2 separate regions of the Homo sapiens genome follow, and region 2 is linked to region 1. Evidence: promoter capture Hi-C in human tissues and cell types (Jung and others, 2019). All regions are on one chromosome and are shown on one strand. Each heading gives the region's core, a stretch centred on a gene start or on the middle of the fragment in contact. The rest is flanking DNA. Distances are from core to core; before and after follow the strand shown. Region 1 holds the start of CDH19 (cadherin 19). Region 2 overlaps CDH19 (cadherin 19).

Region 1 (7,314 bases), core at 3,110-5,609:
AAAGAGGTTGGTGCCTAGGTGAGATGTTTCTAATAAATTCTGGTAATATAAACAGAAAACAAGGCTGACATACCTCTACACGTTTATGTCTGAATTTAAGTATTTTGGGTTGTTTGTTTGCATATTGACAATTACTAAATTATTCTTGTAATGAGCCTTTTTTGTTATTTATACATTTATTCATTGTTAATTACTATAATGGATTTCTTCCGTCATGGAGATTATGTTGCGGCTTGGCAAATATACATACATATATATATTTCTTAAATATACTGCTCCAGAGAAAAGTCTTCTTACAAAAGAAAATAAAAACAAAACAACTTTGGGAGGCCGAGGCGGGCAGATCACGAGGTCAGGAGATCGAGACCATCCTGGCTAACACGGTGAAACCCCGCCTCTACTAAAAATACAAAAAATTAGCCGGGCATGGTGGCAGGTGCCTGTACTCCCAGCTATTAGGGAGGCTGAGGCAGGAGAATGGCTTGAACCCAAGAGGCGGAGCTTGCAGTGAGCCGAGATCGCCCCACTGCACTCCAGCCAGGGTGACCGAGCAAGACTCCGTCTCAAAAAACAAACAAACAAATAAATAAATGAATTAATTAATTAATTAAATATAAAAAGAAAAAGAAAAAAGAATGAATACAAAAATAAGAAAATAAGGACATATATATGACAATAAAATTTTTTATTATATTAGACAAGTGGCTACTGTAACTAGAATTTAAAAGATAAATCTTCAAACCATACAAATTGTTGCCATATTCAAGACAATATTTCTTTACTCTGAGCAAAATTTGTGTAATTTTGATACAAAGTATTTTAGCATGGTTAGAAGTATATAGATTAGTGAATATTTTGTTTATTGTTTGTTCTATCATTGTGCATTTTTTTATTTCCCCATATTTATCATTGTGATATATATTCAATGTTAAAAACAGAATGGAAAACACAGCAAATTGGACTGTTGGAAAAGAATGCCATTTAATGGCAATCCATGGAGAAAATTATTATTTTTATTTTCAGCATTTTAAAAGCTATTTTACATGAATATCTGAAGTGAACACTGGACGTCTAGTTGGTTATCAACTAGATTCAACCACTCCACTCTAATTTGGGGAAATGAATCTGTTTTTCTATCAACTAACTCTTTCTCTCAGGTTCAGGAATGACAATTACTTTAAGCTTTTCTTGTTGCCATTCTTTGTTCATGCATGGACAAGTGATCATTTTGATGAATAAGACGAAAGTGACAGTGTTTTTGAGGGCCTTGAGGAAAAGTTGGAGAACCAAACAGAGCCCAAGAACCTAGATAACTGATTGCAGTAGGAAGCCACTGGATCAACTAACCCTTAACCCTACTTTATTTCTCTATGTATACATTGAATTTCTTCATTATTCTATTCATTTTTGGATTTGATTTTGTTTGATTTTGCTATCTGCTTGCTAGTCAATAGATTTCTCATTGATATAGTGATAGCATACAGTAAATATCTGTTTTAAATGTTCTTGTATTAACATATTATAAGCTTTTCCCAAAACAACTTAAATATATTTTTAAGAACTAAAATGCTTCCAGACCATGTGAGAAGGATGTGGTCCTTAGATTATGCTATCCTGACAACACCTGATTGGACAAGGCCTAAATTTCTAATTGAAGGCACATGTATAGCCTATGATATAAAGTAGGTAGACTTAAACTTTCTGGTTAAATGTCTATTTTCAAGGGACAGATCAGAGCTTGCATAATGTTTGACTTTCCATTTCTGCCTGTTCAGTTAAATTCAAACTTCATTAGCCAGTCTTGTCTGCGGTTAGTCATTAGATATATATTTCTTAATTATCTGGTTTAAAAAATTGGTGGCTCTGAATTATAATACTTGAATTCAAATTTTTATTTAGAGTAACTCAATACAATCCTGGCTTCTGCAACTTCAAGCTCTGTTCCTTAGCCTGCTGGCAGGTGATAACTGTGAAATTCCCCCAGACTGCATGTGAAAATAGACCAGAATGTCACTGTGCAGCTATAAAACATCACTTGTGTTTCGGGAATTGTCCATCCTGCCACATGTTTACTGCTGTGGGGACCTCAGATAACTCTGAGTATGATAACTCTGACTTACATATGGATAGTAGTGTATTTAATTTTGAGCTTCTGTTCTTACACAGTCATGTTCCATTTACTATGTATTACCCCCCCATATATGAAAAATTAGTCAGATATATTTCTCTTGTTATAAAGAAAATGACGTAGAAGTAATCATTAAGCTGGGCCGGGTACGGTGGCTCAAGCCTGTAATCCCAGCACTTTGGGAGGCCAAGGCGGGCGGATCACGAGTCAGGAGATCGAGACCATCCTGGCTAACATGGTGAAACCCCGTCTCTACTAAAAATACAAAAAAATTAGCAGGGCGTGGTGGCGGGCGCCTGTAGTCCCAGCTACTCGGGAGGCTGAGGCAGGAGAATGGCGTGAACCCGGGAGGTGGAGCTTGCAGTGAGCCGAGATTGCGCCACTGCACTCCAGCCTGGGCGACAGAGAGAGATTCCATCTCAAAAAAAAAAAAAAAAAAAAAGAAGTAATCACTAAGCTTATCTGATGACCAGTCCCCTAAGTACTTCCAAGTCTTCATTCTTGGTTGTGGCATAGCGGATGAATCTTGCTGGATCCTTGGCTATCGGCTGTTCATCTTATATCCTCTTCCAGAAAGGGCATGCATTTCTTAAGCAATTTACAGCAACTAGTTCCTGTACGTGTTTGATAATAGATTATCTATTTAATAAAATCAGTTTGCTGTTAATGATATTCTACATAAAACATGTAGTTTCACACTGTACCTTCTTTAGAAAATTTAATCCTGTCTCACTGTGGTTTCTATAGTTGCCATTGCTCTTTATTGGTACTGTAATAATCAGGGCAGCAAATTGTGACCCACCTTTGCTCCCTTAGGCTCTAAAATAAGCCTTTGGGACATCATGTTTACAGGTACACTGAGGCTCTAAACTGTGGTTTCAATCCTAAGTGCAACTGGATATTTTATAAACATCAAGATATAAATTGGCATCTCATAAAATGTTAGATTCTTACAGAAATCCTAGACTAGGTCATAGACAGAACAGTGAATTATGTAAATAAATATTTTAAACAGGTATCTCCACCTTTTTTGATACTGTAAAAAATATGAAGGGGGAAATGTATAAGAATACTTCAGAGGTTCTTTGTAAAATTTATTTTTTCCCTATTTACTAACATCTTGAAACACTTAGAAGTGTTTTTTTCTAGCTGAATGCTTTTTTCTACCTGAAAAAATAAAATATTTCCACATTATACTGTTCCTGCTATCCACAGATCTATTCTCCCAGGTTCATCTCTTCAAGATTTGTTCATAAATTATTGATTCCTCCTAATATTCACAACCTCATAGGATGTGCATTTGTGCGTGTGTGTGCATATGTATGTGTGTGCACATGTATGTGTATGCATGTGTGCACATGTGCATGTGTGTATATGTGTGTGCTTGAGTGTCCTACTTTACTGCCCATATAGCTTTTGCCATTTCTTTCCTCAAAAGCTAAGAGGATAGTGACCAAAATATCTATCAGAATTAACAGGATGCTTGAATAATCCTGCCCCACATAGACTTTCTTATTATATAGGTATAATTTAAGAAACTTTTAATATTTTAATGTTTCTCTAGTTTGGTTCAAAAATGGTTTTTAAGTAAATAACAGCTTGAGTAAACAGCATAGAAAATACATATGTATTTTATGTTAAATAATAATAGCTTATATCAAAATCTAATTATAACCATGAATAAAATAAAAGATTTTACATAATAATAAACCAAGGAAAAGAAAAGGACTTATTAAAGTTTAGACATTTCTCTCTCATTATGTCTTTACTTGATTTCTGAGGAGAAATGACCGAATTAAGAAACAGCCATGAGGCATAGACACACAGTGGAAAATCATTTCTCTTTTCAGTAAGTTTTGGGTCTGCTTTAAATTGATCATTTGTTTCATCAGCTAATCCCCAAACAGAGGGCACGTCCGCTCTACTTGCAAAATTCTTGTATGTAAGTTGAATTCTCCCTTTATCAACTCAGGCCAATAAGTACTTTATTTTGTTTTTGCTTGTTGTTAGGGGAAAAAAAAAAAAAACAAAGATAATCAGCTCATACTACTTGCGTAGCTGTCTGCATTTTAATTCCAGACTATGAACGAGCGTCAGAGTGCCCTTATGATATTTTGCACAAAAGGCTCAGTGTTTATGACTCTACTCAGAGAACCCAAAATAGCATTGAGTAAGCAGTGACATACTGACAGTGTTGTGGTACTAAAAGCACAAGCGTCTGTAACTCTGGGCAATGGGGCACATCGAGAGTTTGCTGAGAAGACTGTGAAGCAAAAAGAAGAAAGTTTTTCCTACTCTTCCTTATGTGTCCAACACGAAGTTTGCTGTTCAGTTTTCACAGAACTTCTAGAAGTTGAAGTTACAAAGGTAAGACTGTGATAATCAGGCATATTATAAACTACATGCATCATCTTTAATGAGTCAATAGGTCAAAAAGTACATGACAAAATGTTGCTAGGAAAATATTCTAAAAATATTAAGGAAAATATTTACATAGGAAATAAGGAAAATATTCTAAAAATTTTAAAACCATGATGTGTACTTGTACTGAACTTTCTCAAAACACGTATTTGTGAGAACAGTTCTCCATCTCTGTAATACAGATTGTTGGTGTTGGGGGGAAGTTACACCTATGTTAGGATATTTAAAACTTCTCAAGTTTCTTAGAATAAATGAATCAACCTTTCTTTGCATGTCTTTCTTTGCACTTTTTTCTTTGTTCAGGGTTTTATTTTTTATTTATCATGTATTTACCATGTATATCAGGTAATATGAACAATAGAGTTGTCATCATTAAGTATATGAGAAAAAATATATACAGAATAAATATGAAAAATTTTAAGTATATTATAATTCCAAAAAAATTAAAATATTAGCATTGCTATGAATAAAAACACATATATGCCTAAAATTGTACAGGCATATTAATTTACCTATATGTATTATAACATTTATACATAACACAAAAGGTAATTTCTCAAATATGAAAGTATAAATTAAGAAAAGTATAAATTAGGAAAATGCATACTGTAAAAGACATTTTATATTGTTTCAATTCTAATTTGGTACATGCAATTTTAATTGAATAACTAATTATAATAAAATATTTCAAAATAAGTTTACCAAAGGGATTTAATAAATCTATTAAATATAAAAACATAAAATATTTAGCAACAAAAAATACCTAAATAGAGTGGCAAAGGTTTTCTTTAGATTATGTCAATTTATATTTTAGCTCTATTAATTCATTTGTTGAATTAATATATCTGTAAGAAAGACATTATTTAGATAAAATATTTGAAAATTTAGTAATATATATTTATGTTTTAGATGTAGTTACAATATTAAGTAAAATTATATGCATTAATATATTCTTTTTTCAAATTCTTAATATTGTAATTATCAGCAGTATGCCTACTTACTATAATTTTTGATTTCAAAGAATTTAAATTTCAATGTAATGTGAACATTTATATTGACCAAATAAAATAACTAACAATTTATTTTTAAAAGGAATAAGCATTTCATTATTGTCTGCAATTATTCAAAATTTTTAAACAATCAATTTATGTCATTTAGAAACCACCAGATCTCCTTTCCTTTACATATGTTTTCCACTTTACCAAGCCTTTATAACAGTGAACGAAATGCTCATATCATTATATAAATATCTGATTTTTACAGTCTTACACATTAGTAAATTCTTTACTTAGGCTCCAGTGAAATATTTATAATTTTAGGCACACACAGACACATCTGCATATATCGAAAAGCATATGTCTTCTACTTATATTTTTTGTTTTGTTTTGTTTTTCACTTAGGAATGTTTGTAAGGTACATTTCCTCAAGAAACATAAAAAAATTTTTGATTAAATTATCATAAATTGAAGATGCTTTAAAATGATGTGCACAGATGCCTCCTATGCATTATTAAGAAACCAGATCCATCTTTCAGGAATTTCTCCTAATACAGCTACATATAATCTGATACATATCATCTATAACTAAATATCAACTGATCATTTTTGCCACTCATGATCTTAGCATGTACTCTTAAATATATGTTATGTTTAAAACATTACATAGCAGTATTCAGCATGTTAGTGAGTAGTAATGCATTAGGAATAAATGTGTTAAACTGTTTAAAAGGAGATATTGATCTTTCTATATACCTTCTTTACATGAGAATTTATTGCTCCTAACCAAGTGTTTGAGAACCATGCTGGTGAATAAGAAAAATTTGTTGTCACGACGATTTCCTTTAACATCGATGATCTTCTATCACCTGTATCTTTGCTTTGGTGAAACAGATTGAAGTTGAAACACAACTAAGTATGGAACGTAATAATAATCCCACAGGAATCCTTTCTATCAATGGTGAAGACAGCCCCTGATTGACAAAATGAGTGTCTTTGCAAAAGTGACTAGAAAGATGTTTGCCACTTTAAAATCAAATCAAAACAAAACAAGATAAACTGTACCCTTACAGCGTTTTTTTTTACCCACTCTCACCACCTTTCAATTGAGAGAACACAGCTAAATGCTCTAAAGCCTGTCAAAATGTGTAACAGATCAATTTCCTTTTCAAATGATGCCTGCCCTCTTGAATATGCTGATATGATTCGTTAAGAGAATGCTTGTCTGAATTTAAAACATACTCTAGAATACATACCTTTGTCAAAATGTGTCACATTAATTACTCAATAATTATATTCAGAATCATCCAAGTATGTCTTAAGATTAAAGCAAAACATCATTTTTAAAAATCCTGCCTTGGCACAACACGTGAAATTTGAAATGTTATTTTAGGACAGTGGTTTCTCAACATACCAGAGCAGTAGATCCAGTTTAGCTGTTTTTTAATTCTAAGAAGTTTCATGATAAATGAAATTTGCAAATTTGCAAGATACTGTATTAAAGTGGGGATAATTTTGGCACATCAGTCATGTCTTAAAATAACCTAGGCAGTTTTATCTGTGTGCAAAATTTAGAAATGTCATTCCTGTGGAAATGAGCAAATCATAAATACATCACAGAAAAGAAGTCGCTATTTTTTTGACTTTAAGTTGTTTTATAGTTAAATTGTGTCAGAGAGTTTGCCATCTATTTTATTCCTAAAAAGGCCTGGTGGAGAATATATGACTTTCCTTGATGTAGAGATAATACTACTAAACATAAAGATAAAC
Region 2 (7,314 bases), core at 3,039-5,538, 38 kb after region 1:
TTGAATAAAAATATAGAAAATTGTATAATACTACAGGCCATTTGATTGAAATGTGTTTAACATATGCATTTTATGACATTAAAAGGCTGGTGTTCAAGTAAGCTTTTTCGTTTTTGTTTCTGTCTTCCCTTAAATCTGGGTCTTAAAAATGTCAAGCTTACTTGTCTTTGAAAATTACACTGCACATATACTTGCAATATATTTACTTATTACTAAACTTAATTTATCTTCATTATAATATCAAATAAATTATCAAATCATATTGAAATGATATAATTTAAAAATATGAACCATACATTGCTCACTTGATATATTGATTTGATTGTATAATTTGTTCCTCAATTTCTTACATCATCGCATGAAGAATTTCTTTTAGGAATAATTAAGAACTATCAAAAGAAGTATTACCAGAAAGACAATCTGGATGTTATTTTTCATTACATAGCATTGATATTCGGCATGTTATTAAAATGCAAAATTAGTTACTAGTACCTTCAGATTTTCTCCACAACCGCAAAGAAAGTGTATTAATTTATCCAGTATAAGAAATTATAACTTAAGCCATCAGAAAAATCATGAATTTGTTTACAACTGATTTCATGATTATCTTTGTAAATTTTCAGAGGAACTCTTACTGTGAATAAGAGCATTTTCATAAATGGTGAATCAAGAAAATGTGGATTCACAATGATTAGGGAACCATGACATTCTTCTCTTACATACAAATAATTCTGATATGAAAAGCTATGTGATCATTTTAACTATATCAGAATTAGACGGGTTTTTTTACAGATAAATTAAAAATTCTAAATAATACCTCAACAGTATGAATGATGAACTAATTTACTTTGCTTTTTGAAAATATGAAAATGAGTGCACAGGCTGAAAGTGTGTATTTGAGAATTAGGTAGAATATATTGAGAAGAAAGTTTTATACTTTATGGCTAAAACCCAAGGGCTAAAGAAGATGTAACTGAGTTGTTGTCAGTGGACAGTCTGAAATTTGACAGCCTCATAGAAGATTTGATAGCCTCGTGGTGTAAATTCTATATCTACACAAAGACCATATGACTCTGAAAAAAGTTTGTAAAACAAAATCTCACTTTTCTTCTCTATAGAAAAATTGATCATATCAATAATATGTATTTCATAATATTGATATGAGAATTACTTGAGAACACTAATATAAAGCAATTTATAGATTTTATGACATGTAATAAATACCTAATGAACAGTCAAGATTATCATTATCTTTATGAACCCTAATTTTCATCCTAATATTTTCTTGTTTCCATGTATATTCATGCAAGAGATAGAACATCAGTGTTTAAATGTCACTAAATTGTCTTTCTATCTATCTCAAGGACCCAATCTAGTATAAATATTTGAGAGTATAGTTTTAGTGACTGAGAATTTAATTATAAATAAAAACTGAACCAACTATGTTGTGCATAACTTACAAAAGAAGCTTTATTATCCAATTATTTTTGTTTCTGTTTAGAATAATGAAATGTGTATAGTTCTTTACACTAAATATTCACTCTTCCTTCTCCCTGGTGATAGATTTTAATCTTGATATTAATATTTTGCCTCATTTAATGTAATGTGGAAATAATATAAAATCATTAACTTGGGGAATAATTAACATACATAAAAAGAAAATCTTGATTTTGATTTGTCCATTTCAGATGTTTGGAAACTAAATGATCCCTCTTTCCATTTGCAGCTAAGATCTGATTTAGACAATGGAAACAATTCTTTCCAGTACAAGCTTTTGGGAGCTGGAGCTGGAAGTACTTTTATCATTGATGAAAGAACAGGTGACATATATGCCATACAGAAGCTTGATAGAGAGGAGCGATCCCTCTACATCTTAAGAGCCCAGGTAATAGACATCGCTACTGGAAGGGCTGTGGAACCTGAGTCTGAGTTTGTCATCAAAGTTTCGGATATCAATGACAATGAACCAAAATTCCTAGATGAACCTTATGAGGCCATTGTACCAGAGATGTCTCCAGAAGGTATTGCATATTAATTTACATCAAAGATATATTAACAATGAAGCAGGTTTAAAATTTGAAGGATATGTTTTGGAAGTAGATGATTTAAGGGTCTATACTAGAACTTCCTTCTACAAATATGTTTAAGTAAAATATTTGAAAAATTAGACTATGCATCAAAATTTTGAGAAAAGGGTACTACATATTAATGTTATTAAAATATCTCAGCCTTCACAGGAATAAAAGAAGTTTAGATATGTTTATTTGAGCAATTCGTAAGTTTTTAGACCTTGTTCATTTACTAGGTTCTTAAGTACAAGAATTTCTTTTTCAAAACAAAATATATTTTTGTATCTCATAAAAGCAAATAAGATAATCCTGCAAGATATGCATAAAAATAGGAAAAGTGAATTTATTAGACTCTATTGTATACATCAAAATCATGAAGAAAAAACCACTAAGACAAAACTAAGTGGTTGAACACCTGTGTGTGGCTGTGTTTATTCAAAGATACTTTTCAAAACCCAGTGTTGTTGTTGTTAATATTTTAAATATAATGCATTTAGGAGAGAATGGTTTCCATAAGATATAAGAATTGACTGTCTTGGAAATTAGAAATGTCTTTCCAGTAAAGGGGAAATTGTGATTATGCACAACTTCTCTCAGTTATTCACTCAAAAAATTTTTGTAGCACAATATACTGGAAAGTTTAATTCAAAAATTTACTTAACAGTGACAAATAAATGTGACTTGATAATGGCCATTTTAAATTACGGTAACATGCTTATAACTACTTTACCTCATTACTTGATTCATTAGCCAATGATTCCAAAAATACATATTTCATCATATAATTTTCTGATTCTTGATTTTTAACATTCCAGGTAGGAATTTAAAGATGTATTTCTACATTGTTTGGAACATAGGTCTTTAAATACAGCAGAAACAAATTTGCCTGTGTAATATATATCAAGACAAATTATTATGAGATGTAAATAGCACTTTAAATTACTCTATTTTGGTAGGTAGGCAAAGAAACAGTTCACCTTCCTCATCCCTCCCTCTCCTCCTCCCCCTTCTCCACCTTCTACTCCTTTCCCTTACTGCCCTCCCCTCTGTCTCCTTATTCCCTCTCTTCCTCCTTCCTCCCTCTGCTTCTTGCTTTTCTTCCTCTGCCACTGCTTCTTCTTCTTCTTGCATATATTATGATGTAACATGCTAGGAATCTTCCTTTGAAACTATAGATAAAATTGTAAAGGAGATAAAGGAGTTACCTGCTAATATGAAACACATTTTAGTTATATACAAATAAGAAATAGTTATTTTAATTAAAGGAGGTAATATATGATCATGTATAGTATAAAAGTGTTATGTATGGGTGAGGTATGATGATTATTAATTGTCTGGAGGAAACGGGACATTTTAGGAGGTGATATTTGAGGTGAATTATACAAAGAGGCCATCCATACCACATTCTAGGAAAAAAGAATCCATAGCAGAGTGCTCAGGGCTGTATACATCAATATGGAAGTCATCAACATATAACACGTATGTCAGGCATGGCAATGAATGAGATCCCTTTGGCAGAGAACGTAGCTGGAGAAGAGAAAAGCATCCAGGCTGACTTGACTGTTAAGCAAAAAGCAGTCGGCTGGCAAATTAGAATGAGTGGGATTGGCAAGCGTTGTAGGAAGAAGGGAAAAATATGAGAAAAGATGTTCCAAAAGAAGAAATCCCTCAACCGTGTGTAATGCTGCTGTGAGGCTAAGATTAAGACAGAGTGGTGACTTTTGATTTGGTAAGTTGAAGACCCCTGGTTTTTTGATAAGTACAACAGTTTAATTTGTGCTATTACAGCACACTGAAGACTATTGTATGGCATAAAAGGAAGAATAAGAGGAAGTAATAATGATTTAAGCCAAGTCTAAAAGGTGTTACGCCACAGGGAGAAAATGAAATGTGAGATGCTAGGTAGAAAAAGATGAAGGTCAAGAGGACTTTTTGCTTGTTTATGACTATTCAATTGTTTTTTAAGAAAGGAAATTGAACAGCACTGTTATATACTATGGGGAATGATTCCAGAGAATAATATTATTTGAAGCAAAGTAAAAGGACATAACTTCTAAAACACTGTTCTTGAAAAAAAAAAAAAAAAAGAAAGGGTCATGGAATCCATTGTACTTATAGAAGGGACAGATTATATGTTAACATATTTGTTCATAACCAATCAGTTAATAAACGTTTCTATTTTGTCAGTGAAGCATAATGCGAAGGCAGTAATTGAGAGAGCATGGGTAAAATTTTAGAGAAGAGGAGGTACAATACTGCCATTTTACAGAGTTGGGTAGTGAACCCATGAGAGAATTATTGGTATCATGGTATCAGTGCAGCCCCACTGTAGATGTTCAGAGAGATTGCAAAAGATGGTTTGGTCTGTGCAATATCTAGCAAGCACAAATCTCTTTGTGCATTGCAATTTGAGATAGAGGTACAAATTATCTTTTCAATTTGTGTAATCAATACATACTGTGTGAGTGCCAGTTAGGGTCCAGGCTTTGTATGAAATCATGCAAGAACTAATGAGCACTTTGTGTAACCTTTCCATGAGAGGGAGAGGCCAGCTGAGTGATGGTCAGTTGCTATTAGAAGTGTTATATAATATGGAAATAGGGGAATATTTCTATTGCTTTGCCAAACTTCTAGCAACGGTTTCCTTCTGAAGCATTCCTGCATTTGTGTTGACTGTGAAGTAAATAAATCAATTAATAAAATTATATGTGATTTATCTTTTTTCCTCAATCTCAGTATTAAATTAATGAATACTGCGGGTTTTATTACCTAAATATAACTTCAATTCTTCATTATCTTTCTATATCCACGGCCATTTAAGTTTTTGAATATTGACCTTACTTCCAAATTTCCTAGCCAGCTACTTTATTCTTCAAAAACAACTATTGCAAACATTTTGCTGTTTCTTTTTCTTACATATATTTCTGTTGTATTGAAGTGAACTGCCTATTATTATATTTGAATCTGCACTTGAACTCAGAATTTGGTTTGAATTACTGAAGGGAATCCATATTTCATTATGTCATGAGATAAAATCAAGAAAATTATTAACTTGTTGCTTATTAAACACACATTTCTTTACAAGTAATGATGGGCTTTTACTGACTGCATTTATGTTTGAAATGAAATTAACTTCAAACTAGAACTTTCAAGTAGAGTTGAGATAAAACATTATGCTTTCCCAATTGTCACTTTGGATTTGCAAAGTTACTATTTTTCTGCCATCCAAAAATATAAGATTTATTAGACCACAAGTCATAGAGTGACTGAGATTTGGAAGGATTGAATAAATAAATGAGTGAGTACATGGGTGGACAAAAAAATGCTAAATAAGTGATTAGAATAGTTTAGGATATAAATAGAAGATTTCGGGAGATGTGAAATTCATGGAAATCATTCTGAAATTGTATCTGAATAGCCAGCCTATCAAATATGTAATCTTCCATTTCAGTAATATTTGCTAGTTTTACCTAAAACCTTATAATGTCAAAAAAAAAAAAAAGAAGGGGCATTTAAAATACGTGTAGTATACTACTTAATAAGCAATTAAACCAAAGCAGAGTCGGGTAACTTATCTTCTGCAAATCAGCACAAAATCCTGCTAAAAGTGAAACATGCTTTAGCCAGTCACATTACGTGGAAAACAACCATAATAAATAGATATTGATATTGTACACATTATGAATGATCATTAGTGTTAATAGACTTTGTTTATATGTCTGTGTATGTGCAAATGCAAAAGGAAAATTTAAAATCTGACTTCCTTAAAATTTAGTTTCACATATTTCTGCCTAATAAAAGCAAGGAGAATATATTGTCTAGTAAAAAGACTATCCACTCTCTTTGGAGCTTTTCCAAATAAATATCCTCCACCAAATTTTTCATATCTGTAGTCACTGAGGGCATCATTTTTAATATTATCAAGTGTCCAACATTCCTTCCACTTGCAATAACCATTTCCTTTTATTTTCAAAACCAGATGCTTTTGAAAATGAATGGGGATAACTAGTGAGTAAGACTCTGTTTACCTTACTATTTAAGGAAGCTTATTTTGGCATTTCAGATTTTAAATTCAAATATAATATGTTATAATGATCTCTGTAATTATTATGCAATATTTTAAGTTGCATTTTTTGGAAAAGCATATAGAAAATTTAATATTCTTCATCAACAATATGGTACAATATGTCATAAAGGAGAGCTTTTATAGAAATATTAAATTCACCTTAAGCTTTGTATGGAAAATCTATACAAATTTAATTTCAGTTAATACTCAGGAAAATAAAAAATCATGAATTTTCAAAATTTATCACATTTGTGAATTAGATTCTATAAATCTCTTGCCTTTGGGAACATGAGTTGAACATGACTGAGACTGGGATGAATTTCTCTTCTTATTCTTCTAAATATAATATTGTTTGATTTATTAAACACAGTCTAATTTGTTTTACTTAAATTCCATTATCTCAGATTATAAAAAGTAGAGGTGTCAAAAATGCAGCACAAAAATAATAAAAATGACCTAGTTTTTAGGTGACTATGGACAGAAAAATAAAAAATTTGAAGAACACTTTGCCCAGTTAAGATGACAAGTGAGAAAATATTATCTGTTTCCTGAGTTTCACTTCGAGACTTTAGGTTGTAGAGTAATTGCAGCTCAAGTATAAATGCAGCAAGAATGGGTCAGTCAGTACTGGTAGAAAAATAATTATCCTTGTACTAATAAAATAAGTTCCCAATGTGAAGGAGTGAGCAGATATACCTATACAACTCTTATGTCATGTATTTGATCATTTGATCACCTCATTCATCTTAATCCTGTTTTATTGTTGCAGAAATTACATATGCAGAGTGTGGATCACTATAATATTATTTGATCTGTATAACATTGAAGTTGACAATTATACAACCCAACATCTCAATAAATTTGTTTCAGATTAATCAAAGTATACTTGTACTAAAACTGGATGTAAAAATAGCTTTTCCATTAAATTTATATCTACATTGTAAGAAAAGAACAGTTAATCTCCTTACTATTGAATTCAAAATGAATAAAATATAACATTCTAAAGTAAATGTCATTTTGAAATCTACAGCTGGAATCTTGGCATTCAAACACTATAGCATACTGTGGCACCTGTACTTTAGTATTCCATAATAAATGTAAGCTTTAATTATAAAATGCCCTCGCCACAGGTTGCTAATTTCTCTATTGCTTACATAATATCTAAATTAGTCTGCATAG

What was found. The method cuts DNA at HindIII sites, captures the fragments that hold promoters and counts their contacts. A contact is called where the count stands out against the background at its distance.
Region 2: a fragment that was not itself captured here is called in contact with the fragment with the promoter of CDH19 in region 1 in 2 of the 25 tissues and cell types used here (hippocampus and pancreas).

Annotation. Positions count from the first base shown.
Region 1 is chr18:66,601,135-66,608,448 of GRCh38, reverse strand. It overlaps CDH19 (cadherin 19), which reads left to right and starts at 4,359. Exons shown (of 12, transcript NM_021153.4): 1 at 4,359-4,495. The HindIII fragment of the contact is 13,282 bases long and covers 2,057-7,314 here.
Region 2 is chr18:66,563,123-66,570,436 of GRCh38, reverse strand. It overlaps CDH19 (cadherin 19), which reads left to right. Exons shown (of 12, transcript NM_021153.4): 3 at 1,727-2,021. Among named protein-coding and RNA genes, the nearest start is that of CDH19, 37 kb to the left of the region's middle. The HindIII fragment of the contact is 4,962 bases long and covers 1,808-6,769 here.